3 separate regions of the Homo sapiens genome follow, and regions 1 and 2 are each linked to region 3. Evidence: promoter capture Hi-C in 16 types of primary human blood cells and fetal thymus (Javierre and others, 2016). All regions are on one chromosome and are shown on one strand. The core of a region is centred on a gene start or on the middle of the fragment in contact, and the rest is flanking DNA. Distances in the headings are between cores, read along the strand shown. Region 1 overlaps TMEM260 (transmembrane protein 260). Region 2 overlaps NAA30 (N-alpha-acetyltransferase 30, NatC catalytic subunit). Region 3 holds the start of CNIH1 (cornichon family member 1).

Region 1 (4,571 bases), core at 1,893-4,392, 2.1 Mb before region 3:
ACTCCATAAAATGTCCCATACTACCCTAAAACTGGCATTTGGGTATCTTCTCCACATTAATTGCACTGGATATCTTTAAATGATTTCCAAGTGTTTATTAACTCCACGTTATTTCGGTAAGGTTCACTGTAAGACATTTTTTCAAACCATTAAATAATATTCTTTACATAGTCCTTTATAGTTCCTCACCATTAGTGACTATTTCTAAAATTATGATGCAGTAATTTGATGCCTATTTGTTAACCTTTTACGTATTCAGAGCACAGGGACTATTTCTGACTCATCCCTGTACATTGTAGTACCGTACAATGTAAGGAATCAATATTGATGAATGACTCATGAAAGTTACTAGTACCTATTAGGAAATGTACTACTGTCCACTTCCTATCCTTTCATAGATAGCAATACTCTGCATTTAATTTCTGTCCCAGCTACAATTTAGACCTTTACTCTCTCTGGCCTGGACTATGGCAACAGACTTGACCAATCCTACTTCAATTCATCTTCATACTGAAATCACTTATAATCAACACCTGCCTTCCCCCATGCCCCTAAACACATACACACACACACACACACACACACACACACACACACAAAAGGCTGGATTGCATCCCTAGTCTAAAATTTCTCAATGGCTGCTCTCTGCTTACTGAACGAAGTTCAGATTCCTCAGCATGACGTTCAAGCTTTCTATGGTTTCAAGGTCCCTTTTCTAGGCTTATATCCATGAAACCTATGTTCCCTCCAGTCAAATCTTATTACCCACTGTTTCTCTGGAGTGGTCCTCTTTTGCACCTCTTCTCACTCATTTTCTCACCCTGGAATATTTTCCCTAGCATTCTCCCCCTAAATCCTTCAAGGCCAAGTTCAATTGCCACCTTCTTGGTAACCTTTCCTTAGACACCTGCTTCCCCAGCCTCCCCATCAGAATTAATCACTTCTTCCTCCTCCATAGAACCTGCTTGAGTCTATTTAGCACTTTAGATGGCCTTATATTCTGGTTGGTTTTCATTTCTCTCTCCCACTAAGTTTAAAAACATTATCCTATCCATTTCACGATCGTGCCAGGATACCACCACCTCTCCCCTCTGGCCACACACAAAGCATCAATTCAAGCCATACACACAGAGGTTAACAAAAATACACATCACATTGTCATCCTTGCTACTAAGACACCCCAGTCTTAGGTGACTGCATCATGGAAGCCTTATAAGGGCACCTGAAGACAGATTAAGTCAATTACTTAAGGACATTTGTTAAGAGATATTCAAGAGCACCTGAGAAACCAGCACATTTTATATCCTAAATGCTTCTTTTTAAATAGTTTATGGTCTCACAATGTCTCAAACAACTGTTCCCTTTGTTAACTACTGTAAAGGATATGATTTTATAGTTTACTCCATAATGGATTAGCTCTTAAGTCTTTAGCTCCAAACTATTTTCGATTTTTTTGTTCCTGTAATCTTTTTGTAACGAAGCCACCATAAATTCAAAATTTCAAAGGTCACTATTCATTCTCCTCCATTTAAAATGTATTCAGAATTACATTTAACATTAAGAAAAATAGGCTGTTTTTCTCTAACTTCTTTTTACCATGGAAAAGTCAGTGTGCTGTTATTATTTGCCAGACTTCTGCTGCTATAAAGATAAATCTGGAATGTGACAAACTTTCATCAATTCTTATCAAATGTTAAACTAAAATCGAAATAGAAAAGATGTCCCCATTCAACGTCTCTAAATGTAACCTTGATAAAGATCTAAAGGGAAATACTACTCTTAAATTGATTGTGATAAAGAGGAAGGGAATAGTAAAAAAACCTCGAGCTTCCCGAGTCTTGGCTTTCTCCCAACCCTTTACATGAAAGGTTCCTCAGTTGTGTCTACCTGCATCAGAATTAACCTGCTTTTTAAAAATGAAGATTCCTTGCCCACACCTCCAAATTCCATAATCTACTAAGACCCACTTGCACTGGGGGCTCAAGTTTCCCAGGTAATTCTGAAGTACGTTCCTGTCTGAGAACCACGGCTTTGTTGTCTGCAATACAAACTAATGGCAAGCCCAGAGTTGTCAGCAGATGCTTAACCTTTACAAAAACCAGCTCCCTTTATATCATACTTCTCAATATTAATTAGACTAGACTGTCACACATCACATCTGTTAAAGACAGTATCTTTGAAATAAACTCACGTACAAACTAATTTAGTGAAGGCCAGATTCCTACCCCCTCCCCGAAAAGCACCACAAGCACCCTGCCCATAAATGAACTGTGTGTGTCAAGTGGTACAAAAAATAATTTTGGCAAGACGACACAATGTGATGAATCTATGGAGTAAAATGTAAGACTTATCAGGAAGAAGAATACATGCTTTATACTGGTTTTGAGATGTGTTCTGTTTATTGATGAAAATATAATTCATAAACATTCAAGAATAGTGCATTCAACATGTAAACACAATTATCAAATATACGATAAAGCAAATTTTCCATATTGGCATATACTTGGAAAACAGTTTATCATTCCCAAAAATGAACATAAAAATATTAGAAGCAACCACTATTTAACATCAAACCAAACAAAATTAAAGCACCTAAAGTTTGGTAACTCAAGGTGAATACACAACTTTATTCTTTTAGGAAAAAATAAAATACAGTATTAATAAAGGCAAGGCAATAATCATGATTTTAAATAAATTTTAAACATCACTACATATGTGATGGTGGATTTAGAAAAGAATTTCATGAAATGTTTTGACGAAAAGTAGAGGTTAAGGGGGCATATTCTGAAGTCAATATACTTTTCTTTTCCTGATTTCTCTACTTTGTGTGACTTTGGGCATAGCTTAGCCTTAGTTTTCCCATTTATAAAAGGAAAATAATAATTGCACCTACTTTTAAGGGTAGCTGGGAGGGTTAAAACAACAACCCATATAAAGCACTTGGAACAGTGCCTGGCACATAGTAAGTGCCCAACAAACGTCAGTTATTATAAATCTCACTCCCATCCTTCACACTCAACCAACCATAAGTAGCTGTCAATCTTTTTATTTTTTTACAAGTAACAGAACTACCTAACCTCTGAATAATGCTCTCCAGCACCAAAACTCACAACTATAAAGTTACTTCCATTATGAAATACCAATCTTGGTAACACTGTACAGAAACTCCCTACTACACGAATGAAACACTATCCCTACTTGTGCAACAGGACCTGAAAGAAGAAAGGTAACAATTTGAAGATGTAACATCAAAGATCTTCAACGTGGTAGGCAGCCCTAAATATGATCCCCACTAATCCCCAAGTCCTGATATTCTCACCTGTGTAATCCTTCCCCCTTGAATATGGGTTGGGTTTACTGACGAAGTTCCAGGAATAAAATGCAGAAGTGGTATATCACTTACAGTATTAGGTTACAAAATGACAGAGCTGTCAGACAGAGAGGTGTCCTTCATCTTTTTCTTGACAGAAGTCAGTTAACTTATGGAGACCCACATAGCAAAGAACTAGATTGCGTTTCTCCCCAAATTGAGCCTTGAGAAGACCGCAGCCCCATCGCACACCATGACAGCAACCTTTTTCTGAGTACGAGCATCTAGCTTAAACGGCACCCAGACTCCTGATTTACAAAAACGGGAGACGATAAACGTTTGCTGTTTAAGCTGCTCAATTTGGGGATCACTAGTCATGCAGCAAAAACTGCTTCTTCAGTCCATAGGTTCACCACCTGAAATTACAGCACTATTCTGACAAAATTACTGGCCATGATATGGCATTATTGAATCCAAAAACAAAACATGGATCTTGTTTCTTGCATCAAATACAAAACAATTAGTGTGATTTAAGGGCCAATGAGTCATGCTTTTCTTTTTCATAGAAACAGCCGCACCTGGCTTCCACCTTTTTAAGAGTTCTCCTGCAAATATTCTGCATGGCTAGTTCCTTCTCAATATTCAGGTTTCAACTAAAACACCACCTCTTCAGAGGTCTTTCCTGAATAGTCATTCGGAAGGACCCACTACTTACCCCCACTCTCAATCATATTTCCCTCCTACTGTCTCCATAACTTATCACCAGTGAATATGCTGTTTATTCATTAACTTGTGTATTGTCTAACCGCACTGGAACACTAGCAATTATCTGTTCGCCACTACTGTTCTTTTGTTTGAAACATAATAAGGACACCGTGAATAATATCTGTGGACTAAAAAAGACTGAAAGTAAATACTCAGGACCAGGATAAAAGATCTGGGGAAGTGGAGAGGTCGATAAGCCCCACCAGGCGAAACCAACAATACGCCCCATCTCGAAAACCTGAGAACTAAAGAAACCACAACGACAGGAATGGAAACAGAAGTGGGCTCTGGAACACACAATAGTGCGCTGTGCACAGGGGGGTGGATGGAGGCCCAGAGCTGACCAGACCGAATGCCAAGAGCAGGGGCCAGACGCAGACCCTGCCCGTTCTGGGACCAGGGGAGAGGGACAGAAGGGGCAACCCTGCGAGTACTTTACCGGAGTCTCCCCCCGGTACCGAAGGGGGCAGGGTGAAGGTGAACACTGCGGCCACGG
Region 2 (4,403 bases), core at 1,168-3,667, 3.0 Mb before region 3:
TAAAAATACAAAAAATTGGCCAGGCGTGGTGGCTCACGCCTGTAATCCCAGCATTTTGGAGGCTGAGGTCATGGCAAAACCCCATCTCTACTAAAAATACAAAAAACTGGCTGGGTGCAGTGGCTCAGCCTATAATCCCAGCACTTTGGGAGGCCAAGGTGGGCGGATCACCGGAGGTCAGGAGTTCAAGACCAGCCTGGCCAACATGACGAAACCCCATCTCTACTAAAAAATAAAAAATTAGCCAGGCATTACAGGTGGAGGGTGCCTGTAATCCCAGCTACTTGGGAGGCGGAGGCAGGAAAATCACTTGAACACAGGAGGCGGAGGTTGCAGTGAGTCGAGATCATGCCACTGCGCTCCAACCTGGGCGACAGAGTGAGACTATCTCAAAAAAAAATAATAATAAAAAAAATAAATCAGCTGGGTGTGGTGGTGTGTGCCTGTAGTCCCAGGTGCTTGGGAGGCTGAGGCACAAGAATTGCTTGAATCTAGGTGCTAGAGGTTGCAGTGAGCCGGGATCACACCACTGCACTCCAGCCTGGGCAATACAGCGAAGCTCTGTCTCAAAAAATAATAAAATTAAATTAAAAACTCTTAATTTTCAAGCCATGCATACAAGTATGCACGCATTTTATGGCCCAAACAAAGTATGTCTGAAGGCCAGGATGCAACCCAAAAGCCACTGGTTTCTGCCCTCCAAACTAGCCAAACAATTGGCTATAATTTATCATGAGTCCTTATCAGTGCTTTTTAATGCATCAAAGGCTCAAACTTAGTCCATAAAACAAGCCCAATTCATTAAAAATCTTAGTGGAAAGCTGTAACACTGCAATAAAGTTGGCTAAACCTAACATATTAAGTAAACCTATTTATAGTTACTTCTCATGATACCTAGGACCGTGTGTGAGTCTTAGGTTGGACAATAACACTTAATAGTTTTTAAAAAACATGAAAGTGAAAAAACTAATGATTAAATACTGGTACAGGTATTAAACTTTTTTTTATGAATACTCAGCTAAAGCACATCACAAAATTTGACATGCTTAGACAAATGCTTGTCTACCCAATTCTCCACTGTGAACAAAGAGCCACTAGGTCCTAGAGAATAGAAGAGTGGTTTTTTGAAACGGAGTCTTGCTCTGTCACCCAGGCTAGAGTGCAGTGGCACGCTCACTGCAACCTCCACCTCCCAGGTTCAATCAATTCTCCTGCCTCAGCCTCCTGAGTAGCTGGGATGACAGGTGCCCACCACCACTCCCAGCTAATTTTTGTATTTTTAGTAGAGACAGGGTTTCGCCATCTTGCCCAGGCTGGTCTTGAACTCCTGACCTAGTGACTCACCTGCCTTGGCCTCCCAAAATGCTGGGATTATAGGCGTGAGCCACCGCACCCGGCACCTGGTGGCCTATTGAGTTTTATGGCGTTATTTAAATGACAAAAGTTATCTAACCCAGCCATAGAAGAGTGGTTCTTAATCAGGCTTACATCACAGTCACCTAGGGAAGCTTCAGCCCCACCTCTGACAAGACAAACAAGAGTCTCAGGGTGAGGGGCCCAAATACATGTTTTTAAACCACCCACATGATTCTAATGATCATTATAAATCATGAGTGTTAAGATTAACTAAACATGTCAGGAAAAGTAGACCCAACAAAAAATTAAGTTTGGGAATTACAAGAAACAATCAATTCTCATCTCCTGATCTTTCCTGAATTGCAATATATAGTTGATGACTAGCACCAAGTAATGGTAACAATTTGTCCATAATTTTGGCTTGATTGAGGTCCACTTAACCCAAATACAGACAAGTGCTTGAAGGCTGGCATGAAGGACCATCATAATGTAATTATAAATTGCAGTATTTCTTGTGGTACTTAGCATAATGCAAAGCATTTTGAATGTGATTAAAAAAATCTGCAGGTGAAAGCTGATGATCGGCTACTTGTTAAAACGAAAAACTGTCAAACAAAACATTAATAAAGAAAAAATTCATTTTAAGAACTTTTTAAAAATACCATTTTGAAATTAAAAATTAAAACCCGCCTTAATTTTCTTCCCTTAGTTTCTTTCATTTCTACATACTTACATTTAAGTCTTTTATTTCAAAACACAACAAAAATGAAAATAGCTTAGGCATTCTTTCCATAAAATAATATTTTTCTTACCAATGCCATTTCTCCTGTATTTGGAATCCACGGCTAACATGGCTATATAACCTCTGCGGAACATCTTTTTGTGCATATCCAACTTGCAAACGATGGCACCTACACACTCCTCCCCTACCATGGCCTTAAAAATAAACAAACAGTTATGAAGAATACATTGCCATCAGGTACTGCACAATTATCCAGAGAAAACAACAACCAACCATTGGTAAGCATTTTCGACGGGGGAAGATAATGGGAACTCTTGCAAGACAGCAGTCACAGAAGTTTCAGAAATCTAAATCCCCTAACTCCTTTAAATGTTCCAGTGTTAAAATTTCTCAATATTCTTTAGAACATGAATTTTTTATGCTTACTATTAAAGCCTAGGGAAAAAAGACAAGATTCCACAAGGTAAACATTCAAGTACTTTATAAGATTACATATGAGGTGCTTAAAATCACAATTATTTGCAACAAAGACCTAAGGTTCTGGAAGGGGAAATATGCAAAAAAAAAATGATTATAAAGAAAAAGTCTATTCATTAGGACATAAAATATTGTAAAACTTGCCCATCAGCAGAATGTAAATTTAAATATATTCAGTTAAATTTAGTAATAATGGCCAGGTGCTGTGGCTCATGCCTGTAAACCCAGCACTTTGGGAGGCAGGCGCAGGCAGATTGCTTGAGCTCAGGGGTTTGAGATCAGCGTGGGCAACATGGCAAAACCCTGTCTCCACCAAAATTACTTAAATTAGCCAGGTGTGGTGGCATGCACCTGTAGTTCCAGCTACTTGGAAAGCTGAGATAGGAGAATGGCTTGAGCCAGGAAGGGAGAGGCTACAGTGAGCTGAGATCGTGCCACTGCACTCCAGCCTAGGTGACAGAGTGAGACCCCATCTCAATAAAAGAAAAAAATGAAAATAAATTTAATAATAAAGTTTTAGTGAAAGCCAGATATAATACATATTTACACCTGAATGGTAGATTTCGATCAGGAAAAAAAAATTAAAAATTTTCAGAAAAAGCACAGTTTATAAGGTATTGCTTAGACCATACCCAAGAGGTTTTTGTTAATATATGTAAGTGTAGCATAGTCTCATTTTTAGGATACTCCTGATAGTGTGGATAACTGTCATAAAGCTCTCAGAATATTTATAGTTCAAAATCAAAGCTTTATGTTAAAAGCTTTAATTTTACAGAAATTTCTATTTTAATAAAAACGTACAGCTTTCCAGAGTATTAAAAGCTACATGTTAAATTCTAATCATCCCCCATTTTCATTAAGATTTCTAGTGTTACCATTGAAAATGTTTTTCAAAAATTCCAATGCTGATAAAAAGTTCTAGTAACACAGTATTTCTGGTAAATATAAATAGGGCAGTATCTCCAACTGTTTAAATAATGTGTCAGTAAGAAGTCTGTTTTCCATAAATTAACTTTCCAGAAGAAACTATTTCAACAAAAGCAGAAATGAGTCAAAAAACTAATAAGTAATGTCCAATTTATAATTAATACATATTTTAAATTTGTGACTTTTTTAGTCTGTCATTCTGTAAATTGATTAAAAGGCCTTTTTTTAACTGTGGAGAAATCTTTTCAGCAAGATAATTCTAATCCATTTCATGCAAACCTAAACTAGGTCGGAAAAATCCTTTTGAAGGAATATGAAATTCAACAACCCACGCTAATTCATTTCTGGTTTATCACACATTCCAAAACTATTTTGGGTCAATAAACCTCTGAAATTGTTATTTCTAATTTTTTCCCTCACAATACATCAATCTTTTAAAAAAATTTTTTAAACAAAGACCTGAAGTATGCACAAAAATCGCCTCGACCAACTCTGAAAGCTTTTTCTGATTTGAAACTCACTTCAAATATATGTGCGTATATACAGACACGTATAAATACATACACATACATAAAATTATCACAGACCAAATGGTATATTTAAAAGGGCCAGAAAAAATTTTGGCCTGACCTCATAAGCCAGGCTCAGGTGAAATGAAAACCTGTATTAGATTGATGATACAAACCTCAGAATAGCTACACCTTATATAAAACTATCCAAAAATGAGGAAAAATTAAAACCATTAAACACAATACAACTGGACAGTACTTTCAATCTGAACAGGAATTTCAAACAAATCTTTGTCCTTTGAGCATGGAATAAGCAAACAAAATATTAAATTAGTTCATTCTTAAGACCTGATTTCTTCCTAATTTAGAATCTATAGGAGCAAAAATCAAGC
Region 3 (4,257 bases), core at 1,489-3,988:
GCAAGATTTATTGCAAGGAGCGAAAAAACAAATCTCCCACACCATGGAACTGGACTTCAGCGGGTTGTCCCCGCTGGCTCCGGCAGCCTGCTTTTATTCTCTTATCTGGCCCCACCCATGTCCTGCTGATTGGTAGAGCCGAGTGGTCTGTTTTGACAGGGCGCTGATTGGTGCGTTTACAATCCCTGAGCTAGACACAAAGGTTTTCCATGTCCCCACCAGATTACTTAGATACAGAGCATCCACACAAAGGTTCTCTAAGGCCCCACCAGAGTAGCTAGATACAGAGTGTCCATTGGTGCACTCACAAACCCTGAGCTAGATACAGGGTGCTGATTGGTGTGTTTACAAACCTTGAGCTAGATACAGAGTGCTGATTGGTGTATTTACAATCCCCGAGCTAGACATAAAGGTTCTCCAAGGCCTCACCAGAGAAGCTAGATACAGAGTGCACATTGGTGCATTCCCAAACCCTGAGCTAGACACAGGGTGCTGATTGGTGTGTTTACAAACCTTGAGCTAGATACAGAGTGCTGATTGGTATATTTACAATCCCTGAGCTAGGCATAAAGGTTCTCCACTTCCCCCCGAGACTCAGGAGCCCAGCTGGCTTCACCCAGCATATCCCACACCGGGGCTGCAGGTGGAGCTGCCTGCCAGTCCCGCGCCGTGCACCCGCACTCCTCAGCCCTTGGGTGGTCGATGGGACTGGGCGCCATGGAGCAGGGGGTGGCGCTCGCTGGGGAGGCTTGGGCTGCACAGGAGCCCATGGAGGGGGTGGGAGGCTCAGGCATGGCGGGCTGCAGGTCCCGAGCCCTGCCCCGCGGGAAGGCAGCTAAGGCCCGGTGAGAAATCGAGTGCAGCGCCGGTGGGCTGGCACTGCTGGGGGACCCAGTACACCCTCTGCAGCCACTGGCCCGGGTGCTAAGCCCCTCATCACCCGGGGCCGGCAGGGGCGGCCGGCTGCTCCGAGTGAGGGTCCCGCCAATCCCACGCCAACCCGGAACTCCAGCTGGCCCGCAAGCACCCTGCGCAGTCCCGGTTACCCCTCGCGCCTCTTCCTCTACACCTCCCTGCAAGCTGAGGGAGCTGGCTCTGGCCTTGGCCAGCCCAGAAAGGGGCTCCCATAGTGCAGCGGTGGGCTGAAGGGCTCCTCAAGTGCCGCCAAAGTGGCAGCCCAGGCAGAGGAGGCGCCGAGAGTGAGGGAGGGCTGTGAGGACTGCCAGCACGCTGTCACCTCTCAAGATCTCATTACCTTGTCCAGGCTGGTCTTGAATTCCTGAGCTCAAGTGATCCTCCTGTCTTGGCCTCCCAAAGTGTTAGGATTACAGGCATGAGCTGCTGTGCCTGGCCAAAAGTAACTTGATAATTTGCACACAGGTGCCACATAATCCTGGTGGTACAGGTTGTACTGTCCAATACACTAGCCACATTTTACTTAAAGTGATGTGAAATTTAAAGTTCAGTTCCTCAGTCATGCTAGACAATTTACAAGTGCCCAATGGCCACATGTGGCTAGTGGCTACTGTATTGGGCAATGTTTAGGTATCGAAAATTTTCACCATCACAGAAGGTTCTATTGCACAGCACTGGACAGACCCTGCTTCTAAACTATTCTACGCAATTTGCTAGGTGAACGATCTTTAATGCAAATCTAAACATGGTCTTCTTTTGCTCAAAAGCCTTCAATGATTTTCTCTTCCATCAGCAGCAATCAGTTAATAGAGTTTTTTTCTTTTAAAAATGGTTGTAATGGAAAGTTAAATCAATTTTGAATCAATTTTGTGTGTTAAGACCAGCATTAAAAACAAGTAGCAAAAGAGAGAAGGGAAAGTACTTATGGATCATTAGTACAGTTTTGTGAAATTTTTGTTTTGGTCATATCTATATTTCTTTGCCTCTATAACTAGATTTCCACCTCTTCATAACTTGATGTCTGTATGATATTCCACTGGGTTGCAATGAAAAAAATCTTTCTAGTTGTGTGTGGTGAGCAAAAAATTTGGGCTTATGGGATAAGAAGTCTGAGCTCCGTAATGAAGCATTATAAGGCCCTCTATGATCTGATCCCTTGCTAATTCATTTCTAAGTCTCACCACTGTCTTGCACTTAGGTTCCATTAATACAGAATTGCTGCTGGTTTCACCTGAGACACGAAGCTTTATTTTTCTTTTCTTTTTTCCATCTCTGTTGCGTTTCCTCATTCTGAACTGTTTCCTTGGACTGCCAGTTCTACCTTCTTTTTGCCTGGAGAACTTATCATCATCTAAGGCCAACTTAGGAAACACCTACAGCAGGAATCCTGCCTAAATGCTCCAGGGCGGGCTGGCTGTCCTTCTTTGACCTTTCAGAGCATCCCACACACATCCGTTTACGGGGTTATAATAACGTAATTATTTATTTAGGTGTTCATTTCCGGCACTATACTAAGTTCTTTCAGTGCAGGTACTATCTTATTCATCTTTGTATCTGAAGCGAGAAGCGCGGTACCTGTAACAAACTAGGCATTCATTCAATAAATATTTGTTGAAAGAATAAACGCAAGAAGGAAGGAAAAATCAATCAACAACTGTGCGGACAATGTCAGTGCAACGCAGACTCCGGCCATCAGAGGGCGCCGGGGCGGCTGGGCTGGTGCGCAGGCGCGCTGAGAGGGCTGGCGCCGCGGCGGTAGCGGTGGCGGTCGCGGCTGTGGCCGGGGGAAGTGAATGGTTTTACCCAGAGGGCCCTGCGCCGCCTTTCTCCGCTGGCAACGGCGCCGCTCCCCGCTCCTCCTCCCCAGCCATGGCGTTCACGTTCGCGGCCTTCTGCTACATGCTGGCGCTGCTGCTCACTGCCGCGCTCATCTTCTTCGCCATTTGGCACGTGAGTAGCTGGGGCTGGGGAAAGGAGGGCGAGGCGGCAACACAGCCTCTTTTCGCCCCGGGCCCGCGGTCCGGGCCGCCACGGCCGCCGGGGCTTTGCGCGTCGGGGATGCGGCCCGGCTGGCACGGGCCGCGCGGCGAGGGGTCTGGGGGCCGCGGGTACTGGAGGAGCCGGGGCGCGCAGTCGCCAGGTGGACGCGCCCGCGTTGCCTCGGCACAGGCCGCGCGCACCGCTACTCCTCCCCTACTGGATGGGGCGGCCGCGGTCCAGGCGGGCGCCCGCGGTTCCGCGCTGCGTTCGCACCGACCTCTGCCGGCCCGCGGCCCTGCATTCCCGGGGAGGATGTCGACAGCGCGGTGGGACGGCCGTAGTGTGAATGAAGTTTTCCGAATTTTTGTTAATACAGATTGACTTTCTTTTAGGGTTTCCACAGAACTGTGGCCAAAATGTAACCTACTTAGGGTGAATTTCCAACTCTACTTTTCAGCACTTGTTCGGTGCTCTTCAAATCAAATCACTTTTTTTCTCTTTTTCCAGATTGTTGTTTCCTGGTGAACTTTGATGCAAGTTCAATTGATTACTTTGTTGATTGCATGTGCGCGTTTCCCCCCCAAATCATACTTTGACCGCTGGAGTTTCAACAGGCAGCTTTCCAAGCCACCCTTATATTCAGGATTGCTTGATTTAGTAGAGGGAGTTTTCATTTGATTTTGAGATGCTCAGAAACCTTAAGCTTTTCTGGGGCAGTATTTATTTCTGTTACACACATCATCATCACTATTGCAGGGTGGAAGCACAGCCTTACTGGTCCCTCTAAGGAAAAAGTCGTAAGTTCCCTGTGACATAGTTCTACAGAGATAAGAATTTCTGTTGCTTTAGCACAAAATTAAAAGCCTTGAGAGCCTTCTGGAAATCATTCATTAAAAATTTATCTCATACTTGCTTCTCTTTTCCCCATATTCCAGTGCCTTCTGGAATGTTGCTTTTAATTTGAATGACCGCGTTCACTCTTACGTAGATTTTAAGTCAGGTTTCATCATGCCAGTAACAAGGATTTCTATGAAACATACGGAGGGGCAGAATGATTAAACAGCAGCAGCGTCTTGTGCAAAAAAGTCTCGAAAGTGGAAGCATATCACAAATCCATTCCTTTTTGCTAAGCAGTGTGATTATGTTTACAATTATTTTAGGACCTGACTGCTTATTGTAATCAGGAATACTTATGTAGGCTATTAACTGTGTCGGAAATAACTGCTACCTCAGAATGCTTGTCAGTAGGAGCAGTAATTTGAAGAGCATCTTCAGCCCTGCTTTGATGGAAGAACAATACCTAAGATAATTTGGGATACAGACTAGCTCAACCTTAGTAGGCCTCTGATGAAAATGTGTGGT

The links. The method cuts DNA at HindIII sites, captures the fragments that hold promoters and counts their contacts. A CHiCAGO score of 5 or more calls a contact.
Region 1: a fragment that was not itself captured here is called in contact with the fragment with the promoter of CNIH1 in region 3 in 2 of 17 cell types (total CD8 T cells and naive CD8 T cells); the score reaches 5.6 in total CD8 T cells.
Region 2: a contact is called between a fragment that was not itself captured here and the fragment with the promoter of CNIH1 in region 3, in 1 of 17 cell types (activated CD4 T cells). The highest score is 5.2, in activated CD4 T cells.

The regions. Positions count from the first base shown.
Region 1 is chr14:56,580,018-56,584,588 of GRCh38, reverse strand. It overlaps TMEM260 (transmembrane protein 260), which reads right to left. Exons shown (of 16, transcript NM_017799.4): 1 at 4,515-4,571. Among named protein-coding and RNA genes, the nearest start is that of TMEM260, 2.5 kb to the right of the region's middle. RefSeq lists a silencer at 4,504-4,571. The HindIII fragment of the contact is 4,901 bases long and covers 692-4,571 here.
Region 2 is chr14:57,394,641-57,399,043 of GRCh38, reverse strand. It overlaps NAA30 (N-alpha-acetyltransferase 30, NatC catalytic subunit), which reads right to left. Exons shown (of 5, transcript NM_001011713.3): 3 at 2,169-2,292. Among named protein-coding and RNA genes, the nearest start is that of NAA30, 6.3 kb to the right of the region's middle. The HindIII fragment of the contact is 1,814 bases long and covers 1,511-3,324 here.
Region 3 is chr14:54,439,855-54,444,111 of GRCh38, reverse strand. It overlaps CNIH1 (cornichon family member 1), which reads left to right and starts at 2,738. Exons shown (of 5, transcript NM_005776.3): 1 at 2,738-2,865. The coding sequence starts at 2,785. RefSeq lists enhancers at 2,395-2,454, 2,331-3,129 and silencers at 2,535-2,804, 2,845-3,204, 3,215-3,264. The HindIII fragment of the contact is 1,439 bases long and covers 2,162-3,600 here.